3 separate regions of the Homo sapiens genome follow, and regions 2 and 3 are each linked to region 1. The links are contacts of gene promoters, found by promoter capture Hi-C in blood cells and fetal thymus (Javierre and others, 2016). All regions are on one chromosome and are shown on one strand. The core of a region is centred on a gene start or on the middle of the fragment in contact, and the rest is flanking DNA. Distances in the headings are between cores, read along the strand shown.

What was found. Contacts are between HindIII fragments. The CHiCAGO score rates a contact against its expected background, and 5 or more counts as called.
Region 2: a contact is called between the fragment with the promoter of CTIF here and a fragment that was not itself captured in region 1, in 1 of 17 cell types (fetal thymus). The highest score is 5.8, in fetal thymus.
Region 3: the fragment with the promoter of SMAD7 here is called in contact with a fragment that was not itself captured in region 1 in 1 of 17 cell types (neutrophils); the score reaches 7.3 in neutrophils.

The regions. Positions count from the first base shown.
Region 1 is chr18:49,500,093-49,503,782 of GRCh38, reverse strand. The region is part of intron 2 of LINC02837 (long intergenic non-protein coding RNA 2837); the gene reads right to left. Among named protein-coding and RNA genes, the nearest start is that of LINC02837, 2.6 kb to the right of the region's middle. RefSeq lists an enhancer at 2,963-3,690. The HindIII fragment of the contact is 902 bases long and covers 1,182-2,083 here.
Region 2 is chr18:48,537,781-48,541,470 of GRCh38, reverse strand. It overlaps CTIF (cap binding complex dependent translation initiation factor), which reads right to left and starts at 2,440. Exons shown (of 12, transcript NM_014772.3): 1 at 2,159-2,440. RefSeq lists silencers at 75-554, 875-964, 1,395-1,754, 2,255-2,334. The HindIII fragment of the contact is 7,178 bases long and covers 1-3,690 here.
Region 3 is chr18:48,949,073-48,952,762 of GRCh38, reverse strand. It overlaps SMAD7 (SMAD family member 7), which reads left to right and starts at 1,798. Exons shown (of 4, transcript NM_005904.4): 1 at 1,798-2,951. The coding sequence starts at 2,339. RefSeq lists silencers at 1-54, 625-1,324, 2,541-2,860. The HindIII fragment of the contact is 3,263 bases long and covers 1,391-3,690 here.

The DNA of each region.
Region 1 (3,690 bases), core at 383-2,882:
CCAGTTAATAAGAGAAAGCTCTTTTTACAAAGAATGCCAAGCTATTCAGATTAAAGAAAAATAAAGAGACATGGCAACCAAACACAATGCCTTATTCTGAATTTGGCTCTTCGTCCAAAAAAAATTCTATAAAAGATATTGTTGGGAAAATTGGCGGCAATTAAATATGGTCTCTAGGTTAGATAATATTATTATAGTAAATGTTAAATTTTCTGATTCTAAAACTGATTATGAAAGAGAACAACCTGGCCAGGCACGGTGGCTCATGCCTGTAATCCCAACACTTTGGAAAGCCGAGACGGGCAGATCACCTGAGGTCAGGAGTTCAAGACCAACCTGGCCAACATAGTGAAACCCAGTCTGTACTAAAAATACAAAAATTAGCCAGGCGTGATGGTGGGCGACTGTAATCCCAGCTACTCAGGAGGCTGAGGCAGGAGAATCACTTGAACCCCGGAGGCAGAGGTTGCAGTGAGCCGAGATCGCGCCAATACACTCTAGCTTGGGTGACAGCAAGCCTCTGTCTCAAAAATAAAATAAAAAGAAACAACAACCAGATGTCATGTGGGACCTAGATTGGGTCTTGCTTTGTTTCTGGTTTTTTTGTGTGTGTGTGGCTGCTTTGGTTGGTTGGTTTGTTTGTTTGTTTGTTTGTTTGAGACAGAGCCTTGCTCTGTCACCCAGGCTGGAGTGTAGTGACATGATCTCAACTCACTGCAACCTCTGTCTCCCAGCTTCAAGCAATTCACATGCCTCAGCCTCCAGAGTAGCTGGGACTACAGGTGTGTGCCACCACACCCTGCTAATTTTTTCTATTTTTAGTAGAGACAGGGATTCACCATGTTGGCCAAGCTGGTTTCGAACTCCTGGCCTCAAGTGATCTGCCTGCCTCAGCTTCCCAAAGTGCTGGGATTACAGGTGTGAGTCAGTGTGCCTGGCGGGTCTTGCTTTGAACAAACCAACTGGAAAGGACATTTGGGGAACAACTGGGATAACTGAAATTGAGGTTAGGTATTAGAAGAGATGAAAATGTATCAACATGGTAAAATTGAGATTAACTGGAAAAAAATCTGATTATGAAATAGCATGTACAGTATAATTTCACCTGGTAAGTATATATGTATATACATACACACATGAAGTATATATCTCACACTATACTAGAAGGATATATTAAAGCTTAATCTTTTGGAAATATAAGGATTTTATTTTCTTAATCTGCTTACCTGCTATATCTGACTTTCTATAAAACACATATAAATAATCTTAAATTTTTGAATAATTTTAAAATTTTACTTATTATTTATTTATTTATTGAGATGGAGTCACTCTGTCACCCAGGCTGGAGTGCAATGGTGCGATCTTGGCTCACTGCAACATCTGCCTCCCGGGTTCAAGAGATTCTCCTGCCTCAGCCTCCCGAGTACCTGGGATTACAGGCACGCACCACCATGCCCGGCTAATTTTTTCTTTTCTTTTCTTTTTTCTTTTTCTTTTTTTTTTTTGAGACAGAGACTCGCTCTGTCACCCAGACTGGAGTGCAGTGGTGCGATCTCGGCTCACTGCAACCTCCGCCTCCCAGGTTCAAGCCATGCTCCTGCCTCAGCCTCCCAAGTAGCTGGGACTACAGGCGTGTGCCACCATGCCCGGCTAATTTTTTGTATTTTTAGTAGAGAGAGATGGGGTTTCACCGTGTTAGCCAAGATAATCTCCATCTCCTGACCTCGTGATCCACCTGCCTTGGCCTCCCAAAGTGCTGGGATTACAGGCGTAAGGCATCTTGCCTGGCAACTTTTTCTATTTTTAGTAAAGACAGGGTTTCACCATGTTGGCCGGGCTGATCTTAACTCCTGGCCTCAAGTGATCTGCCACCCCGGCCTCCCAAAGTGCTGGGGATACAAGCGTGAGCCACCGCACCTGGCCAATTTTAAATTTTTTAATAAATAAATTGCTCTGGCTGTTCTAGATGGATTACAGGGGCAATCAAGAGTGGAAGTAGGTTGTCTAGTTGATCAGCAATATGCTTTTCAGTATCTGTTTCCCAAGTCTAGGTGGAAGCCAGATTCTTGCTGGAAATGAAGCTTCTCCTTCATGGGAATCCCACATACATGGCCAAAGAGATCTTACGTCTGGGAGCACAAACTGGGTATGTTAAAGGGCTTGATATTCTCCAGGGTATTTTGTTGTCCAACAAAGCTGGGTAGAGATTTGCACAGGTCCACGGAGCTGCTCAGCAAAGGGAGGGTCTGGAGGAGTGCTATCCAGCAGACTAAAGGCAAGGCACCAGCCCTCTTTGAAGTTATACACTGGTCCAGCCAGGGAAATCACAAGCACACACACATACCCAACATCAGTTAATGACAAGATAAGAAAGAAAATGTACTTTTAAATTTGATCTTAAAACAATTCACAACTCTTAAAAATTATGCAGAATAAGCCAGGCGTGGTGGCTCACGCCTGTAATCCCAGCACTTTGGGAGGCTGAGGCAGGTGGATCACAAGGTCAGGAGTTCGAGACCAGCCTGGCCAATATGATGAAACCTCGTCTCTACTAAAAATACAAAACTTAGCTGGGCGTGGTAGCACGTGCCTGTAGTCCCAGCTGCTCAGGAGACTGAGGAAGGAGAATTGCTTGAACCCAGGAGGCAGAGGTTGCAGTGAGCTGAGATGGCGCCACTGCACTCCAGCCTGGGCAACACAGCGAGACTCTGTCTCAAAAAATAAATACATAAACAAATAATAAATAAAATTATGCAGAATAAGTAGAGCTATAGTAATAAAAAGCAAACTTTGCAGCTTCAGGAATTAAAGTGTCTCACAAATGGAATGAAATCCCTTAGGAAAGCCTAGTGAAGAAAAATGTCAGCTATTACCCTAACTCTGGGAGGTAAGGGAGAGACAGCCAGGCGGCAGAGAGGAGCAGCCAGCAGCCCAAGGTCCGGAGAGGTGAATTAAAGGACTCCAGCCGCCTGACTAAGGGATTACATTTTCCGATTGTTGTGAAAAGAATTCCCCTTTCCTAGCTAATAAAGCCAATTTCTAAGTGAAGCTCAAAACAGCATTGTACGGGAGGCTCCGACTGAGAAGAACAAAGTAAATCCCTGGCAAGGGATTAAGACTTTCCTCTCCTCCCACCACCCTACCCTACTGCCCGCTCTCCTGGAGGCCCAGGAGCCAATCCTCTAAAGAGAATTCTATGAGGGGCAGGGGAAGTGGATGATAATGCTAAAAGACAGAGCATTGAATATTCACTCATCTGAAAATCCCCAAAGACGTTGCTTTCTAAGAAGATGGTCAGAGTAATGCATACTGGCCAACTGATTTAATGTGCCACACTGACAAACCCTTTCCTAAGAATTTATAGCCTCAACTAAAAACAGTTGTTTGGACAAACTGTCAAACTCCTGCAGGGCCCACTTGACATCCGTCTTTGTCAGGTCAGTGAGGAGAATGGCTATTACTTTGAAAAGGCTAAGGGTTTCTTGTTTCCTGCTGCTCCCGGGAGATCTACAGAGTAAGCGAAGCCTCGGCGGTTACCACTAGGCAGAACCCAATAGAAGTCCTCAGGAGAGCCGTGTTTAAATTCAGCACTTGCCCAAGGCCGGCCAATCACTTGAGGTCAGGAGTTCCAGACCAGCCTGGCCAACATGGCGAAACCTCGTCTCTACTAAAAATACAAAAAATTAGCCG
Region 2 (3,690 bases), core at 1,191-3,690, 960 kb after region 1:
AGGAGGAACTGGGAACGGACAGCCGGCGGCCCCTCCCTGCGCTCTGGGCGGCTCCTTCCTCTCGGCCCTGGCTCCAGCAGCGGCGGCGCTCTCTCGCGCTGTGTCACTTTCGCCCTACGGAGGCTCTAGCCGCGGCCGAGCCGGCGGCTCCAGCGGCTTCCTCCTTGGTCGCGCGGGCCCCTGGACTGGGGGATAATCCTCGGGCCGCAGAGACACAGCGCCGGGCGGGCGGCGGCCTGGGCCGGGCTGGGGCGCGCTGGGCTTGGGCTCCCACTGTCCCCAGACTGAAGAGCCGGGGCTGCGGTTGGCAGTCGCTGACTCTCTCCCCGGTCTGCGAAGGCAGCGGCGGCGAGCGCGGGCACGCACACCCATAGAACGCCTCGGTGCGGGGTCACCCCAGCGTGGACTGGGGGCGGCGCAGCCAAACCAACCCCCCGCGCCGCCGGGTGGACCCCCAGTCTGCCGGGTCACGGGGCGTCGCGGACGCGGAGGGAGGGGCTGTGTGACTCCGGCCGCACAGCGGACCTGGGACTCCTGCACCGAAGACCAGCACACGCGACCCTACGGTCTTCCCCGGCCCACAGCCGCACGGTCCCCTCTCCAAGTAACTCGGGCGCGCGCGCGCGGGGACACACGACCCCGACTTAGACAAGGAGGGGGCTGGCGGGACAGGTCGCGCGGAGGATCGGGGCCCACGCTTGTCCCCACTACGCCGCGGTCTGCGGTCCCCGCCCCCCACACACACCGGAGCCGTGTGTACACACAAACAGCCGGGCGGGGGAGGCGACGCCTCACTCCTCGGGGTGGAGACGCACGCGGCGCCGCCAGTCAGCCCTCCCCTCTACACGCCGCACACCCCGCGGTGCTCACACCCCCCAGCCCCAACCCTGAAAACTCCGCGGAACCAAACAGAGCCAACGCCGCCCAGATAACGGGCTCGGACCACCCCCCTCCCGATTGTCTTTTACCATCAATAGAGAAACACTCGGCTCAGGCGCGCGGTGTCCCGGACGCCCCCTCCGGCCACATCCAGGCACCGGCACGCGGCCCTCCGAGGCCCCAGACCTTCGCCGCAGCCCAAGCCATCGCCCCCCCGCCCGCCCTCCCCCATGACCGGCGCCCGGGACAGTTACCTGCTCGTCGTCCTGATGAACCCGAGCCGGAGCCCACCCCACGGCCTCTCGGGTCACTCGCCACCCAGAGGTGGCTTTTCAGAGCCTGTCAAGTGAACCCCTCTCCGCCGGGCGTATCTATTCCCCAGGCCCGATTGCACCGCAGCGACAGGAATAATAAAAAAAGCCAACAGAACCACAACCGTTGGGAATAACCAAAGGGGAGACCGCAACGGGTCCACCGATTTGGTTTCTTCCTCTGCTCCCATCCCCCGCTCCCCCCGCGGCCCGCGGGCTCACCGGGGACGCAGGGAGGGGGCTGCGCCCTGTCTAGACGACAGCCATCCACAGACATCCCCGAGCCCGCGGGGACGGGCGCGCACACTCACACACGCCCGCTGCCACAGACACAATCAGTCACCGGGGAAGGGAGGGGCGGCGTGGCGACACACTCTCGGGGTCCCTCCCGCAGCCCCGAGTGCCGCAGCCCCCGGCCCCCAAACGCCACCCCGAGACGGGCTCCCTACCTCGGCGGAGCGCGGTCTGAACAGCTGCAAGTTTGGCTGATACTAAACCAACTGCTCGATGCAGCAAATGCGGGCTTCAAAACAAAAGGGAGAGGAATCGCGCTCGCTCTTTTCCTCCTCCCAGGTCGGAACCCGGCACATGACAGCGGCTACACCGCGCAGCTCCAAAGCGAGCCGGGCTCCAGCCGTGCGTCCCCCAAGAGCCCCCCTTGGCGCCGGAGCTCCAGGGCCACGACACCCCGCGGGGCGGGGAACCCGGCAGGGAATGGGACAAACCCAGGGAGGGGGCGACACTGTGGAGTGCAGTTCCCCACCGAGGGGGAGGAGGGGATGGTAGATGGGTGCGGACACCCCGCTGGCCCAGGAGCAGGGATGGGGGGAAGGGGGCTGATTGTTTGGGGCGGTTTTCCCGGATTTATCTATAAGCACGCCCACGTCACGCAGCCCTCCTCCCGGGTCCCCGAATCGATCAGCAAGCTGAGATGACTATAAGAGGAGGACGGGCGAGGAGATGCTCACCTCGGGGTTCCTCTGGCCGCCGCGCCAAGCCCGAGTCGGGGGTGGGGGAAGGGGGCAGGGAAGGGGAAGGGAGGGACGAGGCTCCGGAGAGCCGACTCCTGCCTCGAGTTCGGAGCGTCCCAGCTGCGGAGGGGATCGGGCGCCCCAGCGCACAGACCCAGCAGAGAGGGGAGGGAGGGAGGGAAGGGAAACAGGGAGGGAGGGGCGGGTAGGGGGGAGGGAGTAGAGGAAGGAAAAAAAATGATCCCTGATCTGACACAGGGAAAGAGAATGTAGGAGAGTGACGTTCAGGCCCCGCCCTCCCCTCCGGCCACGTGCAAAGACTTGAAAGGAAAGAGGGCGGCTGGAGGCCTGCTGGGTAATGTAGTTCGCCTTTCTTTTCCAGGATGGCGGGCCCTGGAGAGCAGGGTGGCCCCAGGACGCTCGGGATGTCGCCTTAGCTGCCAAGACAGCCCAGTCTAGCGACGCCAAAACCCGCCGCCCAGCGACCCCACGGCGCTGGCGCAGCCCTGGGTGGGGGCCTCTGCGGTGGGAGAACTGGGGGCTTAGGCGCAGTCCAGGCTTACAGGGAAACGTTGGTTTTAGAGTCCGAAAGGCTTTAAGGATGAGAACGTCCGTGCCGAAAGTGCAAAGTCTGTGCTAATGGCAGATGAAAAGGAGCTTTGTGTATGCACTGGGGGGCCCAAGTGGCGTGATTAATGCTGCACTAAATGCCACCGTCGGTTATTGAGATGCATATGTTATAATTAACATTTGAGCATCTCTGTGTCGGGGGCTGGCTGTTGTAATTAGATACGCACTTTGCAACCAATTAATTTTCCTTCGGCCAAGCTAAGGGCTGGGACGGGGTGGTTGGGAGAATTCAACGTAGTGGATAATTCAGTAATGACTTAACCAGATCACCAATGTTTTGGTTAAAACTGAGCTTGGCACAGAGAGGCCTTCAGGAGAAATACTGAATAAAATACTGTATGCCCCAACAGGGAAGGGGGCTAGAAATTCATTAGAGGAACTGTGTGATGCAGTATAAACTGCTGTAGAAACCCATTTATTCATTAGTTTATATTCACATTTAGTGAGCACTTTCCACAGACCAGGTGTGTCTAGGAATGCCAAAACAGGTAAGACTCACAGTCTCTGCGCTCAAGGAGCTCAGTCCAGTATTAGGGACTACAGTCAATGAAAGTATTATACAAGGGATAAGTCAGCGCTTAACACAAAGTGCTGTGAAATTCCCCCCACCACACAACCTGGAGCAGCCAACTGGATGGAGGGTGGGTGGGGTCTGGGAGAGGGTCAGGAAGACTTCCTGGAGGAAGTGATACTTGAGCAAAGAATTTCTAAGTTTTTTTTTCTTTTTTTTTTTTTTTGGAGACTGAGTCTCTCTTTGTTGCCCTGGCTGGAGTGCAGTGGCGTGATCTTGGCTCACTGCAAGCTCTGCCTCCCTGGTTCATGCCATTCTCCTGCCTCAGCCTCCCAAGTAGCTGGGACTTCAGGCGCCCGCCACCACACCTGGCCAATTTTTTTTTTTT
Region 3 (3,690 bases), core at 549-3,048, 550 kb after region 1:
GAGGGAGCGCGCGGCCGCCGCTGAGGTCATATTCACGCCGCCTCCCCGCCCTCGGCGGCTGTTCCCCTCAGCGCACACTTCCCAGGGCCTCGGTCCAGTCCGGTATAAATGTCTTTTAAACCGAGACAGCGCTCTCCTCCCCTTGCCCTCGGGCGCGGCCAAGGGATCCACCGCCAGGGCCTTTAAAACAAAACCAATGAATGAAGCGCTAGGGCGAGCGCGCGCGAGATGGCCACCGCGAAACCCAGCCGGGTCGAAATCGGGCCACCGACCCGCTCGCTCAGCTCCAAAACTCGCGGCGAAGCCCGCTCGGTGCTCCCTGCTTTTCCAATTTCTCCATGGCTCCGGCCGGGGCTCAATCCATTCTGGGAGCTTCTCTGCCCCCCACCTATCTCTCTCCCCTCCATCGGTACCCCCTCTACAGACCCGGGAGGGGGTGGCGGTGGCGGGGGGTTGGGGGGAGAAATAGCTTTTAGAAACCCGATCTGTTGTTTGCGAAACACAATCGCTTTTTTTTTTTTTTTAAAGCGACAGGGTGTCTAGACGGCCACGTGACGAGGCCGGAGCCGGGCGCGCCACTGCGCAGTGGAACCAGCCGAGCAGAGGGCCGGAGGGGGGGTGCGGGGGGGCGGGGAGGAGGCGGCGCGGCTGCGGCGGCTGGGGGCGGGGGAGGGAAGGGGGAGGAAGGGGGAGGGAAGGGGGCGGGGGCGGGAGGCCTTGCGGGAGGCGGTGAGCCCCGGGCACACTCGCTTGCTGCTCGGCGCACGGAAGATCCTGTCCCCGAGCCGCGCCAGCCGAGCCAGCCGGGCGCCGTGCTCGGTCCGCTCGCCGCGCGGGAGAGAGCTGCCCGAGACAGAGCCAGTCCGTCGGCGCCGAGCCGCCGAGCGCCCGGCCCCTGAGCCCCTGAGTGCGGCGCGGCGAGCCCCTGGCGGCGGCAGAAGGACCGGAGCGCCAGGAGAGGGCGGACCGGGGACAAGGAGGCTCCCGGGCGCGACGAGGAGAGTCTCGGAGGAGGAGGCGCCGAGAGGACACCGGGGCCTCCTGCCGCCGCAGCTGGGTCGAGGCGAGCAGCCCATGCGGGGAGCCTCGGCGGCCAGCCGCGGCCAGGGGAAGGGACATCGGCGGCCCCTGCACTAGCAAGCAGCTTGTGCCCGGGGGGGGCGAGAACGCGCGACCCGTCTGGGGCCCTCCGCCGCCGCCGCGCCACCCTCCCCCGCGCTGTCAGCCCCGCCGGGCTCAGCCGCCGCCGCAGCATCTTCTGCCCCTGCGCCCGCGCCAGCCTCGAGGAAGTCCCCGCCGAGGACCTGGGCCCCCAGGAGCGCAGGGGGAAAGACCAGAGACTCCCCTAAACCACCCAGATGCGCAGGATTGAAGCGGTCTAGCCAAAGCTTTCTGTGGATTAAAAAAATACACGATTTTTTTTTTTTTTTTTGGCAGAAGAAAAGGAGAGGAAGACCAGCGGGGCTTTGCAAGGAAACGGGGGGATGTAACTCGTGGATACATTTTTCCACCCATCAAACATCTTGTTATACTTTGTAAACATTTTCTTTTTTTAAACCCCAGTTCCAGCCGGACGCCCCCAGACCTCTGAGGTTCGAGGAGGTGGTGGTTTTCATTTGGGGCTTTGCATATTTGGTTGTTAGGTTTTGCGAGAGCCTTCTTATTTTGCCAGACGTCTCATGCGGGGTGAAGTCCACTCGGCCCCCTCCCCTGAGTCTTCGTGTGCGCGGAATTCGAGGAGATCCGGTTACTAAGGATATAGAGGAAAAAAATAAATCGCTTGCTTTTTTTTTTTTAATTGCCTGCTTCTCCCCACCCCCAAATTAAGTTGCTTAGCAAGGGGGAAAGAGGCTTTTTCCTTCTTCCAACAGCCCAGCCGAACGCCTTTCGTTTTTTGCCCCCGCGGACCTTCCATGTAGGAAGCCGAGGCTGGCGAGCCCGACATTCGGGAGCCACTGCGGGGGGGCCTCTTTTTGGGGAGGCGCCGACGGGGGCAGGCTCGGCCGTCCCCAGGGAAGCGGCGGCCGGGTTCCTCCGGGGCGCGCCGGGGCCGGAGAGCCGCGCAGGGCGCGGGCCGCGCGGGGTGGGGCAGCCGGAGCGCAGGCCCCCGATCCCCGGCGGGCGCCCCCGGGCCCCCGCGCGCGCCCCGGCCTCCGGGAGACTGGCGCATGCCACGGAGCGCCCCTCGGGCCGCCGCCGCTCCTGCCCGGGCCCCTGCTGCTGCTGCTGTCGCCTGCGCCTGCTGCCCCAACTCGGCGCCCGACTTCTTCATGGTGTGCGGAGGTCATGTTCGCTCCTTAGCAGGCAAACGACTTTTCTCCTCGCCTCCTCGCCCCGCATGTTCAGGACCAAACGATCTGCGCTCGTCCGGCGTCTCTGGAGGAGCCGTGCGCCCGGCGGCGAGGACGAGGAGGAGGGCGCAGGGGGAGGTGGAGGAGGAGGCGAGCTGCGGGGAGAAGGGGCGACGGACAGCCGAGCGCATGGGGCCGGTGGCGGCGGCCCGGGCAGGGCTGGATGCTGCCTGGGCAAGGCGGTGCGAGGTGCCAAAGGTCACCACCATCCCCACCCGCCAGCCGCGGGCGCCGGCGCGGCCGGGGGCGCCGAGGCGGATCTGAAGGCGCTCACGCACTCGGTGCTCAAGAAACTGAAGGAGCGGCAGCTGGAGCTGCTGCTCCAGGCCGTGGAGTCCCGCGGCGGGACGCGCACCGCGTGCCTCCTGCTGCCCGGCCGCCTGGACTGCAGGCTGGGCCCGGGGGCGCCCGCCGGCGCGCAGCCTGCGCAGCCGCCCTCGTCCTACTCGCTCCCCCTCCTGCTGTGCAAAGTGTTCAGGTGGCCGGATCTCAGGCATTCCTCGGAAGTCAAGAGGCTGTGTTGCTGTGAATCTTACGGGAAGATCAACCCCGAGCTGGTGTGCTGCAACCCCCATCACCTTAGCCGACTCTGCGAACTAGGTGAGAAGTTGTCCCCCTACCCCCAACATTTTCCGGAGCGCCAGTGCTGGAAGAAAAGCCCCTAGGGCAGTGCGTTTGTGCAGCCATCCCTCCAGGGGGAGTGTGCATACCCTCCTGGGAGAGTGTGCATACCCTCCTGGGAGAGTGTGCATACCCTCCTGGGAAGAGACTGGGGGCTGAAAGTAGAGAAGGGACAAGGGGAAACTCAAAGGGCATTCCCTGGGGGTTCCCTTCCAGGTTTTCTCCTGTGTTGCCCCGAAGGGGTCTACGGGCACTGCTCCTGCAGTCTGCGGTTAAAAATTAGACGCCTTCATTTCCGGATCAACAAGGGGGTGCAGAGGGAGGTGGGGGGGTCACGCCTCCCCGCACCCGGAAAGACGTTGAGGTGTGTGGCCGAGTTGGATTTGGTCCAGGCCCGCCAAGGAAGGCTGGGAGAGGCGTGCTATAAAGGCTGGAAGGTCTCCGTATTTACTCCTTTAGTAAATACGGAGAATCACGTCGAACACCAGTGGCCCAGATACTGTCGTGGCCGCGCACCTTTGGAGTTTTGGGGCAAAGAGAGTTGGATGGAAGGCCGAACTGGGTATCTGTCTCCTTTCAACTCTGCCAGCCCCAGGGTGCAGAGGAACAAACAGGCAGGAGAAGTTGGGTGTCCCCTACTTTTTCCTTCCTTCCGCACAGATAAGTCTGTAGATTAGTGGGGCCCCGGCGCCTCAGTGACGTTGTCGCCTCTTACTGC